Regions from separate parts of the Homo sapiens genome. Here region 2 is linked to region 1. The links are contacts of gene promoters, found by promoter capture Hi-C in blood cells and fetal thymus (Javierre and others, 2016). All regions are on one chromosome and are shown on one strand. The core of a region is centred on a gene start or on the middle of the fragment in contact, and the rest is flanking DNA. Distances in the headings are between cores, read along the strand shown.

The links. The method cuts DNA at HindIII sites, captures the fragments that hold promoters and counts their contacts. A CHiCAGO score of 5 or more calls a contact.
Region 2: a fragment that was not itself captured here is called in contact with the fragment with the promoter of HEXA in region 1 in 12 of 17 cell types (M1 macrophages, M2 macrophages, M0 macrophages and 9 more); the score reaches 10.1 in M1 macrophages.

The regions. Positions count from the first base shown.
Region 1 is chr15:72,371,776-72,377,790 of GRCh38, reverse strand. HEXA (hexosaminidase subunit alpha) reads left to right here and starts at 1,777. Exons shown (of 14, transcript NM_000520.6): 1 at 1,777-2,071. The coding sequence starts at 1,819. It overlaps HEXA-AS1 (HEXA antisense RNA 1), which reads right to left and starts at 1,678. Exons shown (of 1, transcript NR_027262.1): 1 at 1-1,678. RefSeq lists enhancers at 1,018-1,067, 1,398-1,537, 1,429-1,985, 1,986-2,541. The HindIII fragment of the contact is 8,315 bases long and covers 1-3,718 here.
Region 2 is chr15:72,584,450-72,590,333 of GRCh38, reverse strand. ARIH1 (ariadne RBR E3 ubiquitin protein ligase 1) reads right to left here. Exons shown (of 14, transcript NM_005744.5): 14 at 1-5,884. It overlaps MIR630 (microRNA 630), which reads right to left and starts at 3,117; the gene lies at 3,021-3,117. The HindIII fragment of the contact is 957 bases long and covers 3,600-4,556 here.

The DNA.
Region 1 (6,015 bases), core at 528-3,027:
TTTGATCTACTGCTCTCATCTTTGAAACTGCTCTAAACACTCCCCCAAATTATTGATCCTGTGGGCCTGATTATGAACTTGGCTCTTCTGACAATACTTCTCAAATCCTGTACCTTTGGTAACATCTCTCCTGACTGGCAGAGTACCCAGACACTTAATTAATGCTGATGAAAATTAAGATTTAAGCAAAGAAGAAATTGGTGTAAGAATGCAAGCCTTAGGATCTGAAACTTGATGACTGTGGGATCTAATTTCTGCTTCTTTTGCTACAAGCTCTGTTTTTGAATAATCAACTTTCAAAGACAAATTGCTTGATGAATCTCTGTATTGTCAGAATGTTTCTTTGATTTCCCATCAAAGCCATGTATGTGTAACTAGTAATTAGGTACCTACGACCTGAATATAAATTATCATTATTTCAGTAGCCCTTTATTTGTTTTTGAGAAAGGGTTTCACTATACTGCCCAGGCTAAACTTGAACTCCTTGGTTCAAGTGATCCTGCCGCCTCAGCCTCCTGAATAGCTGGGAGTAGCTGGGACTACAGGGATGTGTTATCATGCCCAGTGAAAGCCCTTTATTTTTAAAAGTTCATTTTCCTGATCTTTACATGTATTTTAATACTAAAATTAAATTTAAAAATTTTAAAAAGTACCTACTAACCAAATAATGCCACCCAATAACAATAGCATTATTTGTATTATGTTCTGGTAATATAGTGGTGAACAAGGAAGACAGGGTCTCTGATAACTGTGGAATTCTCCTTGATCACTTCTCAAGCCTCTCTTCCGGATACTATTTCTTGGATCTACAGCTGTCTTCCTTCCCCACTTCTGTAGTTCAGTCTCTCATTATTCTCTACCTCCAATAAAAAGGGGCCTCCTAACTGGTTTCTTATGCAACTACTCAACATGGTATTTCTAAAATGCAGATCTTTCGGGATGATTTTCAATTGCTCAGAGAATAAATTCCTTGACTTTCTACGTAAGGCCCTGCAGGACCAGGCCCCTGTCATTATCTCTGAGCACTCTCCATCTTGCACCCAAAGCCCCAGCAATATCTTACTGCTTTCAGTAAATACACACCGGGCTATGTGGGGTTTTGTCTGGGGAAAGGGGATGTGAGTTGTAACTAAGAGATTTATAGTCAATCTTGAAGGGAAGAGCTCATATTGGAGGCAATGGAATGCCTCAAGCTGGCTCTGAAAGTACACATTTTTTCCAGTCATAAGTAGATCACATTTGTGTGATCTTGTGATCCTCTCTCTAGCAGAGCCGTGCAGACTACCTACTTCCGGCCCTTTCTTGCCCCACGAAATTTCACATCACAACGACTTGTGGTTTTAATCCTCCGTTTTTCTGCTTCTGAAGTTACTTCAGCCTGGCAAGTCCTTTACCTCCCCGTAGGCCTGGCGAGCTGCATCACAACATTCAAGATTCACCCTAGAGCCATCTGGGAAACTTTCTTCTCCAGGTCGCCCTGCGTCCTCGCCTCCCCACCCCGTTCTTCTCGAGTCGGGTGAGCTGTCTAGTTCCATCACGGCCGGCACGGCCGCAGGGGTGGCCGGTTATTTACTGCTCTACTGGGCCCGTGAACAGTCTGGCGAGCCGAGCAGTTGCCGACGCCCGGCACAATCCGCTGCACGTAGCAGGAGCCTCAGGTCCAGGCCGGAAGTGAAAGGGCAGGGTGTGGGTCCTCCTGGGGTCGCAGGCGCAGAGCCGCCTCTGGTCACGTGATTCGCCGATAAGTCACGGGGGCGCCGCTCACCTGACCAGGGTCTCACGTGGCCAGCCCCCTCCGAGAGGGGAGACCAGCGGGCCATGACAAGCTCCAGGCTTTGGTTTTCGCTGCTGCTGGCGGCAGCGTTCGCAGGACGGGCGACGGCCCTCTGGCCCTGGCCTCAGAACTTCCAAACCTCCGACCAGCGCTACGTCCTTTACCCGAACAACTTTCAATTCCAGTACGATGTCAGCTCGGCCGCGCAGCCCGGCTGCTCAGTCCTCGACGAGGCCTTCCAGCGCTATCGTGACCTGCTTTTCGGTTCCGGGTCTTGGCCCCGTCCTTACCTCACAGGTGAGTCGGACTTGTCCCGCCCTGTTCCTGGGCCCTGAGAGTGCCTGCCTGGGGACAGTTCCCCCAGGGCTCCAGAGACGCCCTATGGGCTTTTGTCCAGCCCTCTGATCACAGGCACTCCACTTCCTCCTCGAGCTGCATTAGGTTTTCATCCAAAGATAACTACTATAGGACTACGGTTCAATCAGGAGATTAATTTATGGAAAATACTGTGCCAGCAGAAATCTAAGGTGATCCTTCTGACCGTGTTCAAGCTAGCCAGGGTCCTAGTGAGACTGTGAGCAAGGGCTGAGTAGAGACCAGAGAAAACACTCAAAATTGGGGAGACATAATACAAGAACTATGCAAAGTTACATACAAGTTTCTGGCACATAGAATGTTTGGCGGGCGGATCACGAGGTCAGGAGTTCGAGACCAGCCCGGCCAACATAGTGAAACCCCGTCTCTACCAAAAACACAAAAAATTAGCCAGGCGTGGCGGCGCGCGCCTGTAGTCCCAGCTACTCGGGATGCTGAGGCAGGAGAATCGGTTGAACCCATGAGGTGGAGGTTGTGGTGAGCTGAGATCGCGCCACTGCACTCCAGCCTGGGCAACAGAGCAAGACTCCCTCTCAGAAAAACAACCCCCCCCCCCAAACAAAACAAAACAAAACAAAAAAAGTGTAAATTGTGAAAGAAATCATAGAACATAAGGAAGTGAGTTTCCAGCGGCCACTTGGAATGGGATGGTAGATGTAATTAGCCGGGACTGAAAAGAGGGTATTCCAGGCAGGAAGAAGGGCTTGAGCAGAGGCACAAAGAATTATGATTGAGTTCAAAGTTCAGGTCTAGTGGATGTGATGAGTGGGGGCTGGGGATTGAGGAGGGATGAGGGTGGGGAAAATGTGGGGTTGAAGAGTCAAGAGCGCTTTAGACATTGGTTTCACATAAAATGGAAGGGGCTAACAGTTTTCTTTTAGGCAGCTATGTAATCAGTACTGAAAATTGTATTTGAGGATAATTATTCCACAGCACATTTGTAAGTCGAGCCAACAATGTAAAGGAATACAATTCTGCTGCATGGGTTCAAAATTTAGAAGTTTCTTGATAATCTGGAATCTAGCTCTTTGGTTATATTGTATAGATGTTATGGGGGTGGGAGCCACATTTACGGTTAAGTCTTGTAGTAATATTTTATATGATGTTTCAAGTGTGTTTAAATTACTTTCACAAAAGTTATCATTTGATATATAGAATTAAAAGCATTTAATTATACAGATGACCCTTAGAGAGTGACATTTGATTTGGGGAAAGAAACACAATCTCAGCATCAGGGTAGTCCTTAACTGGTAAAATGCATTAAGCTGGAGAGGATAAGAGGCCTGCTGTTGAGTGTGGTAGATCACATTTTCCTCTGAATCCTTCATGACAAATAATAGAGTGCCTTACCCAAGATTGGCACTCAGAATATGTTGATTTTGGTTTAGAAGAGTTTGAGCCTGGTTTATGGAAAAAAAAATCCGTCTAACTGGTATATGTCAATCCCAGTGCTGGGCACTCTGAAGGTTACAAGAAAAGTCTTAAGACCTAGGCCTAGGCTCTATAGTTCAATTGCGAAAATATGAAACAGAGGGAGGTACACAGTGAATTATAAGATTCTCAAAAGCTTTATAGGTTGTTTCCTACTATTGTATACATGAGAATAATTCCTTTCCTTTTTTTTTTTTTTTTTGAGACGGAGTCTCGCTTTATCACTCAGCCTACACTGAGGCTGAGTGCAGTGATACGATCTTGGCTCACTGCAGCCTCCGCCTCCTGGGTTCAAGCGATTCTCCTGCCTCAGCCTCCCGAGTAGGTGGGACTACACGTGCTTGCCACCACGCCCAGCTAATTTTTGTATTTTTAGTAGAGATGGGGTTTCACCATGTTGGCCAGGCTGGTCTCAAACTCCTGGCCTCAAGTGATCCACCCACCTCAGCCTCCCAAAGTGCTGAGATTACAGGCATGAGCCACCGCGCCATACCTAATTCCTATACTTCTAAATTAGGCCTTCACCTCCATTGCTATAGCACCATAGTTTAATCAAGTAGATAGAAATGGAGAGATTGTAAGATAATGGAATACTATAAATTCCCTAACAAAAGAGATTTAGAGCCAGATAAATTCAATAAGATGTTTATTTCCATATATTACCTTCCTGTAAGTTCATTAGCTTTATTAGTTGAGGGTTCTTGTCCATTGAGAGAAAATGAAAACTGGGTTGGGTGAACATTACCAAAGACTTAAAAGTAACTTCTTTCTCTATTGCTCTTCCCATGGAGTCTTCCCTTTGGAATGTAGTTTCCTGTGGAGGCTTTTAGGTGACTTTGAGCTAAAATCCTAGTTCTGCAGAAACAAGGATGAAGCAATAGCATGGGAAACAAATAGAGGTAGAGCAATACCAACAAGGCTGAAGCCAGAATACATTTCTTTATGAGTCTGATTTTAGTAAAGAAGGCAACATATGCAGGTTAAATCTTAACTAACAGATTTCCATCCTCTTCCTCCAAACAACTTATTTGTAGGCTCTGGGCCAGTAGGTTTTGTTTGTTTGTTTGTTTTTGTTTTTTTGAGACAGAATCTTGCTTAGTCACCTAGGCTGGAGTTCAGTGGCACAATCTTGGCTCACTGCAACCTCTGCCTCCCGGTCTCAAGCAATTCTCCCACCTCAGCCTCCTGAGTAGCTGGGACCACAGGAGCATGCCACCACACCTGGCTAATTTTTGTATTTTCTGTAGATGGGGTTTCGCCATGTTGCCCAAGCTGGTCTCCAATTCCTGAGCTCAAGTGATCCCCCTGCTTTGGCCTACCAAAGTCCTGGGATTACAGGGTGGAATGAGCCACCTGACCAGCCCAGTGTTTTTCCTAATGCAATACAACTTCTGGTTTTTGTCTGAACCTGAAACTAAGAATTCATACTCCCTTTTCTGAAAAAGAAGTCTGGTATTGAGGTTCAGTTCTATTTTGAATTCACCTTCAAGGGTTAGTCCCACCAGTTGCTAAATGGTCTGTGAAGGTGTTTAGTATTTGCCACCTTTCTTTGTCATTGAGAGGTGTTTCTACCAATTGGAGGGTGTGTGTTGCATGTTGTTGAACCTGTTAAATAGACTTATTTTAGGAACTAGATACTTGAATGAATCTAGTTCCCTGTTTGATTATTAAGCCACATCCTGTTTGCAAAGCAAAGATGTGATTATTTGGAATTTGGAATGGCACCCATCTAATGTTGCTCCAGACATTTAATAAGCATGGTGTGGAGCATGGTGCTTGATGGAGCTGATAAAGTCCAAATTTTTCCAAGTAAAGTGGCTAAGTCTAATTCTGCCATTAGACTGCATTTTTTTTTTTTTTTTGAGATGGAGTCTTGCTCTGTTGCCCAGGCTGGAATGCAGTGGTGTGATTTTGACTCACTGCAACCTCCACCTCCTGGGTTCAAGTGATTATCCTGCCTCAGCCTCCCAAGTAGCTGGGAATTCAGGCACCCACCACCATGCCTGGCTAATTTTTTATTTTTTAGTAGAGACGGGGTTTAGTAGCGATGGGGTTTCACCACGTTGGCCAGACTGGTCTCGAACTCCTGGCCTCATGTGATCTGCCCACCTCAAGATTACAGGTGTGAGCCACTGCACCTGGCCATGACTGCATTCTTCTTTGCTTTTCCTGAAACTGGTTGATAGAAGCCATAGTATATCATAGATATTATAAGGTTCCCATCCTGGTCTGATGTTCACCTGCACATCCCTGTGAGTTGCTGAGGATGCCATTGTCCTTCAACAGAATAATCCTGCCCCCCTTCTCCAGCCCTTTTATTCTGGAATGGAAGTAAGATTATTATATAAGAGCCTGTGTCCTTCTGCAGCCATTATCAGTATTTGATTTGCTCATCCTCAGATATTAAAGAAGTGACTAAATTAATAAATGGCATA
Region 2 (5,884 bases), core at 2,829-5,328, 210 kb before region 1:
TCCCCTAATCAGTCTATATACAATTTTAGCTGGTGCTTTTGGTGACTGAGAAGCAGATACAGCATGGTGAAAATAATATACTGGTCAAACAGCAGAGCTGGCTCTGATATTAACTGGTTGAGTGGCCTTGGGCAATCCACCGAGTCTATGCAGAATCAAGGTTGAGAGCTTCAGACAAACCAACAGACCTTTTGTTCACTGCTGTACTGCCAGTGCCCGGCACTGTGTGTGCTGACCAATAAAACCTAGGTTTGTAACTTCATTCCACCACTTACTAACAGGATGACCTCAAGGAAACTACCCATTTTATTTGAGCTTCTATTTTCTTATTTATAAAATGAAAATAGTAACTACATCATAAGACTGAGATGGAAGAGCTAGGAGCAGTGGCACATGCCTATGATCCCAGCTACTCAGGAGGCTGAGGCAGAAGGGGTTGGCTGAGACTAGGAGTTCAAGTCCAGCCTGGGCAACATAGCAAGACTGTCTCTTAAAAAAATAAAAAATAAAAATAAACGAGATGGAAACAAAGCATTTGGTAAATACTAAGTAGCCACGAGTATCTACCATATACCAATTCATTACATGTATTTAAAAAATTAAAACTTCAGGGCATTTCAGTTTTGTCAAAGACGATTTCCATGATGTGAACCCAGCGAACTATGATCTCCAAGATCTCCTTCCCGATTAAGTTAAGCTCTCAACACCCATGTTTGTATTGATGATCCTGCCCCATGGATCTGATTGGTTCTGTCTACATGTGTCAGGAACAGTTAACATGTAATACCTGGAGCTATGGGGTAACTGACAGGAAAAGCAGCAGTAAGAGCTGTAAGAGAATGATGTACAGATAGTAGACAATACCACTTTAGGGGTCCAAAATGGTTTTCTAGTTCCCAATCTCATCCTGCCTTTGGGAGTCTCTGAGACAGCTCTGTATCCTTATCTTTTGCCCAAGTTAGCACTGGTGTGCTTATTATTGTAACTAGGTTTTGTTTTCACATGTTCTTTGATCCTCACAATATTCCTATGTAACAGACAACAGCAGCATAATAGAATGAACATATGGAATCAGACAAGCATGGCCCTGTTATACACTCAATGTGTAACTTTTGAGTAAGTTAGTAGTATATGAGTGTCTTTCCTCATAAAAATAGGGTAACAATGCCCATTTTGCTTTAGGGCTGCTTGGAAGATACAGACAAAAGTAAGGCATCTGGCAAAAAGCACTCAACAAATTACAGTTCCTATTAGTATTCCCATTTTACAAAAGGGAAATCTATGGCTGAGAAATACCAATATTCTTACTACTATACCACACTTGAAATAAAAATACAAGATTATCAAAAGAATGATAGACATGAGAAACTTGTAAACTCTTAAGTGCTCGTGGAATTGTGCAGACTTGACGCAACTAGCTTTAATGACAGTTTTGCTTATAACCACTCAACTTCCTTTGCTCAGACTCTGTATTATTTTCCCTAGATAGATTTCTCCCCCTTGGTAAGAGAATGTACTGCCAATCAACATGGCTGCTTGTCAGTTCTACTTCTTGGTAAGACTTTTAGTTTTGTGATTTTCTCCAAGGTGGACCACTTACCAGAAAACCAACAAAAAACCAAATTGGGCACTGCACACCAGACCCTTGGGAGGCACCATTCCACAAAACCCACTCAACTAGGGCCTCCAGTGAGGCCCTATTCTGAGCCAGTCAATTTGCCTTGAATCATTTTGTCCCTTATGATCTGGAGTTGCTCGCCTATATTCTCTTTTTGCAACTATAGAAGGCAGTCTAGATCAAGGATCTCAACCTAGTCTGCATGTGAGAATCACCGGCTGGAATTAGGGGTGAGAATGCGTAAAGGGCTTTACAAAAATTACTGATGCCTACCCAAAGCAATTAAATCATAATCTCCATAAAGTAACACTCAGGCACTAATATTTTTTAAAGCTTCTCAGTGATTCCAATTCGCAGTCAAGTTTAAGTATCACTGGTCTAGGTAATGCCAGATGGACAGTGGCATTGTTGCAAGCCAAGACTAGTAGAAGCTGGGAAAAAAAAACTGCCCATGGCCGGGTTTTCTTTGGCCCACATTTAATTAAGAGAATTCACATGAAGTCTGGATTTCACAGGCTCCTCTCAGAGCCCATCTACTCCAGGGTACTCTATTTCTAAAATATTTACTTGGCTCTTGTTGACATTTCAGTTTGAGACTCCTGGATTACTTGAGACCCCTGAATTACTATGGTAATAAGGTTGTTGTGGTATTGATAGAGCTGCTACATATCAATGTGTGACTGATATACAAACTTTAACTGGCTCCTACCCTGAAAATAGTCCTAAATAAGCATATCTGTGGCCCTAAATGATAGCCTGAAAACTGCTTTTCGCACATAACTCATATTATTTTTTCCCATCCTAAATGCTACCGCCTAGAGAAAGGTCAACAATAGTTGCCTTAAAAATTGGACTCAACTCCACACAAAAGCAAAAACTAAAAACCTAAAAGTTGTCTGTTTACTCCCCTGGTAGGCACTATTTGATTGATATCCAACTGAGTATTTCTGAGTTGGCTATTTGATCTTGGGTAACTACAGAAGCAAAATCCCTAAAATAAACCAGATATAACCAACTTTATCCCCAAAGATATATGAAAAATCTGAGGGGCCCACTTATCTTCCTGTTTCTGAAGGAGCCAAAATTTTCTCATAAAACTCACTGCTTATCATCTTTTTAAAGCCTCAAAGGCTGAGATCCAATGGATATGGGATGTTCTGTGCATCCTGTAACAATTTCCTGCAGACTATCCAAAATTCTTTACAATGGAAATTCATTTGAATAACTAAACCAACAACTGCAAATTACTTGGGTACTATTAAGCAAATCATACTAAACCACTTATTCTCAACTACTGTGTTGCAAACTGCAACAAATGAAAGATCAGAGATAGTATAGAGCAACCTCTAACAGTAGCAGTGATAGGCATTTATAATAGTCTTTAATGTGGTTTAAAAGTACAATATAGTTAAGAACTACCTTCCCTGGTACAGAATACTAGGTCATTCTGTGACCAGAATAACAAAATATGATACAAAGAGGTAGCATGATGTTAAGTTTCAGGTAGAAGGAAATGAAAAATTGAGGGAGTTATTTAACCTCAGTGAGCCTTATCTTCCTCCTTTATAAAAAATGGCAATTTCTTCTCCACTTGTTTTAGACAGTAAGTTGAAGTGCTTTGAAGAGGAAAAGTGATAAACTCCCATAATTACAGATCCAAATAAGAGTAAATTAAATTGTCCTAAAACCTGGACTTGGCCAGAGTATCAATGACAAACGATCTTCAACTTTGGGACCTTCTTTAAGAAAACTCTCCCTTCATCCCTATATAACAGTATCAGCTTTAAGAGTGAGCTAAAATGAAAGTAATGTAAAGGAGTTTTGAGGTTAGCTAAGAATGACTTTTAAAGTATTTTCTTTAAAAAAAGTGGCATTCAAAGAGCTATTGAACATTTTTGTATCACTGTTACAACACAAACAATTTAAATTCAATATCTGAGATGCAGAAATTGGAAATCTTTCAGAAAATGCTCTGAAAGCTTCATTAACCAAGTTAAATGTTGGGGGAATGGGCTCATTCACAGTTCCCTGCAAAGAAACAACCAATTTTTGACATTTTATATTAAGTGGGAACAGTGAATAAGGCACATAATACGGGTGGCTATTAGCCACCTTTAGTCATTTTTTAACTATAAAAATAAACATAAGTAACTAATGGAATAACAAAATAAAAGTTTATTTTATTAGAATTAGGAATGTTCTTTCCCTCTGGGCAACCTGAACAGTCCAGTTACAATGAAATCTAAGAACAGTTATTTCCACAGCATAGGGTGCTCTATGCACAAAATTACAGGGTTAGGAGCATTTAATCAATTTACCATTCTGATTGTCTCACCAACCCACCCCATCCCATCCCCCAAGTGCTCTATTACCGGGGTTTGTAGCTAAAATAATTTGTTACATTAACTCCTTTTCCCTCTTCTACTAAATTTCAGTTCCTAATCATGGTTGAACCACTTTATTACACAGCAGATTCAACCATTTCAAATGAAGTCAGCCAGTCTTGGATCTGTTGTATATGGGTGTATGTATACACGTGTATCTAACATATTTATTTAAACACACATAAAACACATACAATCTGGGTTGTGGAAAATTACAGATAATTTAGTCTGATATTATATGCTACTCAATTTTACCACTGTGGTTTGTGTCCTGAGCTTTGGATCAAAATTTTATTTTAAATCACTGAAAGTCCATCTGCTGCTGAATGAATTGTTCAAATGAAGCATGCACTTTTCAAAAGACAATGAAACTGACCTCAAGACATGGAGACCTTGGTGCTTACTGTGAATAGATCCCTCAGATAAGACTTCTGTAGGTGAAACAGGGAAGCTGTCATGGCTTGCCTATCCCAGCTGGGGGCACTGAATCTACTAATAACACAAGCAATTCACTCTGGGAATTCTGTCAAATATGGTGGTATCTGTTAAAAGCTTGGAAGTAGAAAAGGGCCAGTTCATCTTGATCATACAAATTAGGGAATGCACCCACAACTGCAATACCCTCAGGCAGTATGCCAACATTGAAATAGAAAGCATCTCTAAAAAGCACTGTTCCTCCATGGGTGAAGACTGGTATTAGGAAGTGCACACACAATTTTTGGGTATTTGTTGCAACAGGAACACGTGGATTTATGACACTCAAACCTAGACACTGCAAAGTTAACTGGTAAGATTTTTTTTTTTTAAACACCACACATACACAAAGCATTTTAAAGGAGCCACATATATCTATATAGCAACTCTGACTGCTTTTCAAAGTTACCAGGGAAAGGAACTTATTCAGGCTTTCTTTAAAAAAACTCCTTAGTTTTAATGTATATCTTTTTAAGATTGATGCTGTCATTTGAAGTAAAATAATGTCATATGGATAATGGGGGAAGAGGGGAGAGAGACGAGAAAATGGAAGAAGCAGACACTGAGTTCAGATTTGCACCTGAGGTGGCAAGGGAGGAAAGGAGAAAAGGTACAGGTAAAGTTGATCCTAAAGCGACAAGTGGTTTAAGGAAGCAGCATTTATACTCAGCAAACATTCACTGATTTTTGATGGGAAAAGAACAGTTGCCAGTAAATCTCCTGTAACAACCTTTTCTAAAAGGAAAAGTAGGGTTGATTCAGCAAAGCCTAACTTAGGCAAAAGGCCAGAGGAAAGTGAACCTACTTCCCAATGGAGTAATAGGATGTACAGTGTAAGAGCAGACAAAGCTGCCTCACAAATGGTAAACACTCCCTAGGCAAAAGACATTTAAAGGAAGACGAAGAGGTCCTCAGCCTCAACTGGTATTTCATATTTAGACCTCTTAATCTAGTTGCCTAGTTCACTCTGCACTCCTGTATAAAACTGACAGATTTACAGATGCTGACCTATTGAAAAATACCACAGCCAGAATGGCCTAAACAGGTATATAGTTAATACAACCACCACCATCCTTTACTTTTAACATAGCTCTTAGTAGGAATTTCATAAAAATGGACATCACAGCTAAAATGCATTATTAATTCTCCTATCTGCTGACAATAAAAAAGCAGCAAACTCAGTGATTTCTATTTAAATGCACTAGATGGGAATATCATGTTCTAGGGGTGTTTGCCTTCAAACCAAACCCACAGCAACACACACAAGCAATTTCGGTATCCACCATTTTAAATTCACAATCTGAGACTAAATGAATGGCTATTTATATTTAAAGCAAAACATTCTCTTTGACACCCTAATGTAGAGAAGGGGTGAGCAGACGAGCCATAACTAAAATCTGAAAAGCAG